3 separate regions of the Homo sapiens genome follow, and all the other regions are linked to region 2. The links are contacts of gene promoters, found by promoter capture Hi-C in blood cells and fetal thymus (Javierre and others, 2016). All regions are on one chromosome and are shown on one strand. The core of a region is centred on a gene start or on the middle of the fragment in contact, and the rest is flanking DNA. Distances in the headings are between cores, read along the strand shown. Region 1 overlaps ZFX (zinc finger protein X-linked). Region 2 holds the start of KLHL15 (kelch like family member 15). Region 3 overlaps APOO (apolipoprotein O).

Region 1 (3,204 bases), core at 492-2,991, 140 kb after region 2:
TTGGAAGACTTAACACTAACATATATCAACACTTATTATAAAGCTACAGTGATTAAATTAGTGGGCGCAAAGCCAGATTGACCAGTGGCACAGGATAGAGTCCAAAAGTTGACCTACACATACAAGGTCAGTTGATTTAAAGAAAGGTGTATTGGGATTTTGATTGAATGTAGAGGTTAATTAAGGGAGAAGTGATACTACTAATCTAACATATTCTTTTTTTTCTTTTTCTTTCTTTTTTTTTTTTTTTTTTAAAGACAGTCTTCCTCTGTCATCCAGGCTGGAATGCAGTGCAGTGGTGCAAATTTGGCTCACTGCAGCCTCTGCCTTCTGTGTTCAAGTGATTCTTCTTCTGCCTCAGCCTCTCGAGTAGCTGGGATTACAGGTGTGCGCCCCCATGTCTGCCTAGCTTTTGTATTTTTAGTAGAGACGGGGTTTCACCATGTTGGCCAGCCTGGTCTCGAACTCCTGACCTCAAGTGATCTACCTGCCTCAGCCTTCCAAAGTGCTGGGATTACAGGTGTGAGCCATTGCACCTGGCCCTAATGTAACATATTCAAGAGCAAGATTGCTTTCTCTATTTATTTGTCTAAAAAGGAAAAAAAAAAAAAAAAGAAATCTCTAGCTGGGCGTGGTGGCACATGCCTGTAGTCCCAGCTACTTGGAAGGCTGAGGCAGGAGAATCGCTTGAACCTGGGAGGCAGAGGTTGTGGTGAGCTGAGATCGTGCCATTGCACTCCAGCCTGGGCAACAAGAGTGAAACTCTGTCTCAAAAAACAAAAAAATCCCACACAGTAGAGTTTTTAATTACTCTTATCAGTGGGATTTTTTCATTCTTAGGTGTTTACATGAGAAAGCTTTTGTCTTCAAGTATATTAATTTTGTACCAGCACACCTTATGAATTCATACCGATAATAGTTTTTCAGTTGATTCTCTTGTATTTCCTAGATATAGCATATGCAAATAAGTTTAATTTCCTTCAAGTAATAATTATATCTTCTATTTCATCATCTTACCTAATTACACTGGCTGGCATTTGTCACACAATCCTATAATAATAGTATTAATGGCCATTCTTAATTTTGACTTTAGAGAGAATACTTCTAATGTTTTACCTTAGGTTTAATAGATGTCTTTTTGTTATAAAGTGATAACTGACATCATTCTCATATCCCAAAACACATGTTCTGACATGAACTGGTTTAAGATTGCATATACTTGAGTATTTTTTAAACAGCTTTATTGAGATAAAGCTATTATTAAATCTACCCTTTAAAATGTACATTTCAGTGGTTTTTTAGTAGATTCAGAGTTCTGTAACTATTATCACTAATTAGAACATTTTCGTCACCCCAAAAAGAAACCCTACACCTACTGGTAATCACTCTCCTCTCCCCGCTTCCTTCATCCCCTAGCAACCACTAATCTACCTTCTGTCTGTGTGGATTTGCTTGTTCCTGACGTTTCATATAAATGGAATCCTATAACGTGGTCTTTCGTGTCTGGCTCCTTTCACTTAGCATATTGTTTTCAAGGTCATCCATGTTTTAGCGTGTATCCTATTTATTTAATTTGTTAACTGTTAAAATATCTATCCCAATTTGACTCAAAAGTTTGCTTTAAATCAAAAGTAGGCGTTCAGTTTCAACTTTTCAGCATCTGTTGAGAATATCAGGCGTTTTTTTTTTTGACCTATTAATTTGGGCCATTATTTGGCTCCATCCTTGAATTCTAGAGTACCCATACTGTGCCAAGGTCTGTGGTGTGTGTGTGTGTGTGTGTACATGTACATGGATGTGCTTTTTTTTTTTTTTTTTTTTTTACATGACGGATCATATTTGCGGATACTTGACTTGGGATTCATAATTAACCAAGTTTGTAATTTGGTTAAATTATTTTTGTTAGGTTTTTTTTTTTTTTTTTTTTTTTTTTTTTTTGATACAGAGTCTCACTCTGTCGCCCAGGCTGGAGTGCAATGGCGCGATCTTGGCTCACTGCAACCTCTGCCTCCTGGGTTCAAGTGATTCTCGTGCCTCAGCCTCCTGAGTAGCTGGGACTACAGGCGCGAGCAACCACGCCCAGCTAAGTTTTGTATTTTTGGTAGAGATGGGGTTTCACCATGTTGGCCAGGCTGGTCTCGAACTCCTGACCTCAGGTGATCCACCCACCTCAGCCTTCCAAAGTGCTGGGATTACAGGCATTAGTCACCATGCCCGGCCGCCTAGCTAATTTTTAAAATTATTTTGTCAAGATGGAGTCTAGCTATTTTGTCCAGGCTGGTCTTGAACTCCTTGCTGCAAGTGATCTCCTGCCTTGGCTTCCCAAAGCGCTGGGATTACGGGTGTGAGCCACTGTGCCCAGGCCCCCTCTTTTAAAAAAAAGAAAAAAAAAAAAAAAAAAATTCATTACGATCGGGTTTTCTTTTATTGAGTTAATGCTGGTAATTTACATTTTCCGTCACTGTGCTAGTGTAGAATTCTAGACCATTTTCATACAAGTTGTTTTCTTTTTTTCTGTTTTTTTTTTTTCTTATTTCAAATTGTATATGTTTGTGCTTTCTCCCAGTTTCTTCCCCTCTTTTAGATTATTATCTTGTATTTTATTGTCTTCCCAACCCCCTGGAAAAAGCTTGGTTTGGAGATTTTTTTGGGGTAAAAATTAGCTGGCTCCCTAGCTTTGCTCCAGAGAATGGTCATGAAATTAATGGTTGCTGATACTCAACCTGGAGCATGCCTGTTGTTGGTCTTTTGAGAAGCAGGCGTATTTCAAACCTGCCCCTGCATTGCCCAGCTTGTTCTTTTCTTTTATTATTTTTTTAATGATTAAAGGATTTATTAAATTCCATGTGCAAAACACATTGCTGATTGCATTAGCAAAAGATCAATGTAAAAATACCCCACAATTCTGGAACTGTCCATTTAAAATATTTGTTCTAGTTGTTGAAAGGCCCAGTGTTATATTCTTGCCAGTGCTTAAGGTATACAGAGAATACTGTAAGTGTTAACACTGAGTTTACAGAACCTCATAGGCCGAAAGTAATGTATTTAGGAAAAGCAATAATAGTAAGTATGCATTCATGTAGGTGAGATATAGTATGGTCAATATGGGTCAAATTACAGCGTTGGTGATCAGTGACAAGGGAGTTGGCAAGACAATTATGTTAAGAAAGATCATAGTTTAAGAATATTTAGGGCTGGGCACGG
Region 2 (3,468 bases), core at 70-2,569:
CGGCGCCGCCGTCGGGGCTGAGGACACTCAGCTGTCCTCGTCCCCTTGCAGCGGTCTCTCTCCGCCTGCACGAGCGATGGGCCCTGAGCCACTGCGGTGCGCCCACCCTCGACAAGTTGAGGGCTAGGAAGCCAGGAAAGTGTCTTTTTGCATCTTGGCCACGGTGGGGGTGGGGGAATCGGGGACAACGTGGAGGGAGCTTTTCCATAGCTACCTGTTATAAAAGTGACTAGATCTGCGCCAAATGACATCATTTTTTGTAAGGCAACTTGCAGTGGACTATTGCGTCACTGTCCACTTGGCTTACTGCACAACAATTACACGTTTCAGAAATCGATTTCCCAAGGGTGGGAAAATTCATAAAAAATTGCATGTCTGCACCACCCGGAGATAATGCCGGATTTAAAAAAGCTGTCTCTACTTGCGTCAAAATAATCAAGAACGAACATTCAGAGGGCAGTGATTTTTGTTGTTCGTTTTTTATAGAATTCTAGCTAGTACTTTTTAAATATTACCTTTTCTTGACAAGAATATAAAACTAGACTATAGGACTGTTTTGTAAATTTATTATGGCATCTCTTTCTGGGAAAAGTGTAGATGACGGAAATACACAGTTGGAAGCCCGTGGATCTACAATTAACCTTAAATTAGGGCATCCATTGCCCATAGCAGATCCTAAACTGAGGTATTTCGGCTTCCCCCACCCCCACCCCCCGCCGCCATTTTCTCTCTAGACCAATATCCCGATGAACTTTCCGTGAGAGGTGTCGCTAAAAGCGATAATTATCTCTTTCTAGCAAACTTGAACATACCATCTTTCCCAAGAGGCCAAAATAGCACACGGTGTACTGTTTTGCTGAAGTAGACTACTTCGTGGGAGAGATAACACAATCACTTCAATCTTTTGGAAATACGCTTCCTTATTCCGATTTAAACTATAACAAGCTTTAAAAAAACTGTAAGACACTGAAATTCCCAAGTTGTTCACACTTTCTTTCCATCTTTTCCAATAGCTCCTTTAAGATATTTCTGTTCATTATTTAAAAATCCCTGCTTGCCATATTTGTATCTATTACTACATGACAAATTACCCCAGAATTTCACATTAAAACAAATTTTTAAAATTAAATCATAAAATAAACTTTAAAAATGCATACATTCCACTTCTGAATATTTAAATGTTCATGCATTATTCCCGAACATCTAAACGCTGAGTTTGGATTTTTGTACATTAACTAACATTTTAAGCTATACATTACTATGTGGCACTGACCTGTCTAAAGAGAGGCTTCTGTTCTTGATTCAAGCAAGAGTTGAAACGTTTCTGCGCTCTTTGTACCAGGTATAAATGTAGTGAGTGTATGTCATAAGCCATTGTGTGATCACCGTGCTTCCCGTCCCTCCTTATTTTGACATTGCAAGGTCTCGTGGAATTTCAAATGTGCTTTTTTGGATATTTATGTAGTTTTAAAACTGGGCTGTGTCTTTCAATCAATCTATACGTTTACTATATGAACCCCTCCCCAAGTTATCTTCAATCAATGATGCCTCTTTCACTCTTATTTCTTATTTTTATGTTATTATTATTATTTTTTTTTTGAGACAGTCTCACTCTCGGCCAGGCTGGAGGGCAGAGGCATGATCTCAGCTCACTGCAGCCTTGACCTCCCGGGCTCAAGCAATCCTTCCACCTCAGCCTCCCGAATAGCTAGGACCACAGACGTGCCCCACCATGCTCGGCTAACTTTTCTTTTCTTGTTTTTGTTTGTTTGTTTGTTTTGTTTTTGTTTGCTTGTTTTTTTCTGAGATGGAGTCTGTCGCTCAGGCTGGGGTGCAGTGGATCTCGGCTGACTGCAACCTCCGCCTCCCGGGTTCAAGCGATTATCCTGCCTCAGCCTCCCGAGTAGCTGGGATTACAGGCGCTCGCCACCGTGCCCAGCTAACTTTTGTATTTTTAGTAGAGACGGGGTTTCACTGTGTTGGCTAGGCTGGTCTCAAACCCCCGACCTCATGATCGCCCGCCTTGGCCTCCCAAAGTGCTGGGATTACAAGCGTGAGCCACTGCACTCCAGCTCAGGCAACAGAGCAAAAACACCGTCTCAAAAAAAAAAAAGAAAAGAAAATATATTTTAACTTTCCCCACCAATTTCTGGACTGTAATGGGAGTTGTTAAATACCTTGAGAGTATCCTTTCACACTGGTAGAGTCCCACAGAGGTAGATGGAAGCTGTCTTTTCTTAGCCCTCTAGCCTAAGTATTTGAGAATACACATTCCTCAATAGCTATTTATTTAGCAGCTAGCGAGGTCGGAAGCATGCTAGAAGCCTGGGCCTGGGAGTGCTGGTGGAGTTGGAATGAGGTTCTTCCCCAGGGGTTCTGAGGATTTAGGATACTGCATACCCTCCTCCTCCCTCCTGTTTTTGCTTTTTAAGAAATTGAGGCCAGGCGTGGTGGCTCACGCCTGTAATTCCAGCACTTTGGGAGGCCGAGGCGGAAGGATCATTAGAGGTCAGGAGTTGGAAACCAGCCTGACGAACATAGTGAAACCCCGTCTCTATTAAAAATACAAAAAATTAGCTGGCATGGTGGTGCGGGCCTGCGGTCCCAGCTACTCAGGAGGCTGAGGTAGGAGTATGGCTTGAGCCCAGGAGGCAGAGGTTGCAGTGAGTCGAGATTGCACCACTGCACTCCAGCCTGGACAACGGAACTAGACGCTGTCTCAAAAAAAAAAAAAAGAAAAGAAAAGTTGAGGCTTTTCAGAAATTCCCAGTCTGTGGTAGTTGTCTTGGTAATCACTTTTCTTTTTACTTTTTTTTTTTTTCTTTTTTTTGAGACAGAGTCTCCCTCTATCATCCAGGCTGGAGTGCAGTGGCGTGATTGGCTCACTGCAACCTCTGCCTCCCAGGTTCAAGTGATTCTCCTGCCTCAGCCTCCCAAGTAGCTGGGACTACAGGCACACACCACCACGCCCAGCTAAATTTTGTAACTTTAGTAGAGATGGGTTTTCCCATGTTGGCCAGGCTGGTCTCGAACTCCTGACCTCTAGTAATCCATCCACCTCAGCCTCCCAAAGTGTTGGGATTACAGGCGTGATCAACCGCACCCAGCCACCCCATGATCTTTCCACTGTACCATGTAATTATATTAACATAGTAAATGATCTTCACATAGTTGTATTTTTATTCCTACTTAATTCCACAAATTGTTGGTTTGCAATCTACTATACTATTTATTTATTCATTCCATAAGTATGTGTAAGTGCCTAGTACATGCCAAGTCTTGTTCTACCCACTGGGGATCCATCAGTGAATAAAACATATGAAAACTCTAGCCCTTGTACGGATTACATGTGTCAGGTAATAAAATAAATAAGCAAATTATGTGGCCTGTTAGAATGTGGTAAATGTGGCCGGGTGCGGTGGCTCACGCCTGTAATCCCAGCACTTTGAGAGGCTGAGGTGGGTGGAT
Region 3 (3,127 bases), core at 579-3,078, 140 kb before region 2:
ACCTTACCCTTCTACCAACTTCCATTGACAAATTTATTTTAAAAGTAGACTATGGTTAGAAGGCAGAATAGTGGATACCCTTAGCAAGCTGGGTAGTGACTAGAAGGGCCACGAGAAGAGCTTCTAGAGTGCTAGTATGTTTAGTTTGTAAAAATTCACTTATGCCCCGTTTACTTTCCTATATGTATGTTATACAAATGGTCTCAGACTTACAAATGGTTCAACCTTACATGGTGCAGAAGCGATACGCATTCTGTAGAAACCGCACTTTGAGTACCCATATAACCATTCTGCTTTTCACTTTCAGTGCAGTATTCAATAATGTACATGAAACATTCAATAGTTTATTATAAAATAGGCTTTGTGTTAGATGATTCTGCCCAACTGTGGGCTACTGGAAGTGTTCTGAGTACATTTAAGGGAGGGTAGGCTAAATTATGATGTTTGGTAGGTTAGGTGTGTTAATTTTTGACTTAATGATATTTTCAACTTATGATAGGTTTATCAGAATGCAACCCCACCACAAGCTGAGGAGCATCCGCATTTAAGCACAAAGTCAAAAAGGCAGATTCTGTTTGCTTTCTCAATTTTATCTCCTCCTCCCTTTACTACTAAATGCACCTAAAACCTTTCTTCCCAAGACCACCAATAGCCTCCCAGTTGCTAAACCCCACTGGACATCTGGCATCTTGGTTGCACCCTGAAACTGGTGACTACTCTACATCTTCAACCCCTTTCTTTGGCTTACAGGATTCTACCCTATCCCCATTCTAGAGGCTTTCTAGGTACTCTCTCCTCCCCTTTTGGGCCTTCTCTTCCTCTGCATAGCTCTTCAAGGTTGATGAGTCATGGAGTAGTCTTTAACTCTCTCCTCTTCTCACTCCAGGGCAATTTCATTAAAATCTAATTCTTTCTTTTTTTTTTCTTTCAGACAGAGTCTCGCTCTGTCACCCAGACTGGAGTCCAGTGGCCTGATCTCGGCTCACTACAATCTCCGCCTCCCGGGTTCAAGGGATTCTCATGCTTTAGCCTCCCAAGTAGCTGGGATTACAGGCGCCCGCCACCACGCTCAGCTAATTTTTGTGTTTTTAGTAGAGACAGGGTTTCGCCATGTTGGCCAGGCTGGTCTCAAACTCCTGGGCTCAAGGGATCCACCTGCCTCAGCCTCCCAAAGTGCTGGGATTATAGGCGTGAGCCACCACACCTGGCCAAAATCTAAGTCTTTAACTCCCACTCATATGCTACTGATGCTCAAATCAGTATCCCTAGCCTGGGCCTCTCCCTAAGCCTCAGGCTTGTGTGTTTCCTGTGTTTCTAACTCCCTGAGGGACATGTTACCAGGCTTTTCAACTGCTACTTCAAACAGGCTATATCCAAAGGTGACCTTTTTTTTGGAGTGATGGAATATATTATTTCTATTTTCCATGTAAATAATTTAAACTCTCTCTATGTAAGTATATATACACTTACAGTATCTTACCCTTCTACCAAGTTTATATATATGTATATAAACTATATGTATATATATACTTATAGACTTATACATACTATATATACTTAAAAATATAGTTTATATAGTTTAAGTATATATAATACTTTATGTATTTCTATATATAGTTTACATTTATATATTTAAAATGTATGACATTATGCTTTCAACTATCTTTCTCCAAAACTGTTTTTATGAGATTCTCTACCTTATTTAATGATCCTACAAGCCACACAAAGGACAACATAAAAGCAACTCTTTAATGATAAAGAATGAAAATAAATTTTTTTTTTTTTGAGACAGAGTTTTGCTCTTTCACCCAGGCTGGAGTGAAGTGGCGCAATCTCGGCTCAAGACAACCTCCGTGCCCCTGGGGTTCAAACGATTCTCCTGCCTCAGCCTCTCAAGTAGCTGGGATTACAGGCAGCCACCACCACACCCAGCTAATTATTTTTTTTTTTTTTGAGACGGAGTCTCGCACTGTCGCCCAGCCTGGAGTGCAGTGGCGCGATCTCCACTCACTGCAACCTCCGCCGTCTCTCGGATTCAAGCGATTCTCCTGCCTCAGCCTCCCAAGTAGCTGGCATTACAGGCGCCCGCTACCATGCCCAGCTACTTTTTGGAATTTTAGTAGAGACAGGGTTTCACCATGTTGGCTAGGCTGGTGGTCTCAAACTCCTTACCTCAGGTGATCCACCTGCCTTGGCCTCTCATACTGCTGGAATTGGCCAAGGTGGGCAGTTCACGAGGTCAGGAAATCGAGACCATCCTAGAAACACAGTGAAACCCCATCTCTACTAAAAATACAAAAAATTAGCAGGGCATGGTGGCGGGCGCCTGTAGTCCCAGCTACTCAGGAGGCAGAGGCAGGAGAATGGCGTGAACCTGGGAGGTGGAGCTTGCAGTGAGCCAAGATCGCGCCACTGCACTCCAACCTGGGCGACAGAGCGGGACTCCGTCACAAAAAAAAAAAAAAAGTGCTGGGATTACAAGCGTGAGCCACCGCGCCTGGCCTCAGTCAACCTTTTCTGCAATAATTTCCATTCTGACAGCATTTTTCACTCGAAACAAAACTATTTTAATCTGATTCTAATTATTTAGGAGGTAAAAATCTGAAATGGGTTTTTTACAAAAAAAAAAAACAAACTATGAACACTGACAATACTTTTGAGATTATTCTTATTCTAAGTAACCAACACAAAAAAAAGAACTATGTGAAAGAACTCAGAATACAACAAAATGATGAAGACAATAAAAAAATTTTGTCAAAATCAGGCTACACTGTTGTCCTCAGTAACGTGTTGTAAATTGAATGAAAAATCAAGAGAAAGGCCGGGCGCGGTGGCTCACGCCTGTAATCCCAGCACTTTGGGAGGCCGAAGCGGGCAGATCACGAGGTCAGGAGATCGAGACCATCTTGGCTAACATGGTGAAACCCCATCTCTACTAAAAATACAAAAAAAAAAAAAACAAAACATTAGCCAGGCGTGGTGGTGGGAACCTGTAGTCCCAGATACTCAGGAGGCTGAGGCAGGAGAAAACCTGGGAGGCGGAGCTTGCAGTGAGCCGACATCACGCCACTGCACTCCAGTCTGGGCGACAGGGCAAGGCTCCGTCTGAAAAATAAATAAATAAATA

What was found. The method cuts DNA at HindIII sites, captures the fragments that hold promoters and counts their contacts. A CHiCAGO score of 5 or more calls a contact.
Region 1: a contact is called between a fragment that was not itself captured here and the fragment with the promoter of KLHL15 in region 2, in 3 of 17 cell types (total B cells, activated CD4 T cells and monocytes). The highest score is 8.3, in total B cells.
Region 3: a contact is called between a fragment that was not itself captured here and the fragment with the promoter of KLHL15 in region 2, in 9 of 17 cell types (activated CD4 T cells, naive CD4 T cells, naive CD8 T cells and 6 more). The highest score is 8.7, in activated CD4 T cells.

The regions. Positions count from the first base shown.
Region 1 is chrX:24,161,458-24,164,661 of GRCh38, forward strand. All of the region lies in intron 3 of ZFX (zinc finger protein X-linked), which reads left to right. Among named protein-coding and RNA genes, the nearest start is that of ZFX, 13 kb to the left of the region's middle. The HindIII fragment of the contact is 1,772 bases long and covers 856-2,627 here.
Region 2 is chrX:24,025,867-24,029,334 of GRCh38, forward strand. KLHL15 (kelch like family member 15) reads right to left here and starts at 1,320. Exons shown (of 4, transcript NM_030624.3): 1 at 1,274-1,320. RefSeq lists enhancers at 1-188, 189-692, 1,900-2,399 and a silencer at 1-21. The HindIII fragment of the contact is 3,234 bases long and covers 944-3,468 here.
Region 3 is chrX:23,890,317-23,893,443 of GRCh38, forward strand. The region is part of intron 1 of APOO (apolipoprotein O); the gene reads right to left. Among named protein-coding and RNA genes, the nearest start is that of APOO, 16 kb to the right of the region's middle. The HindIII fragment of the contact is 7,288 bases long and covers 1-3,127 here.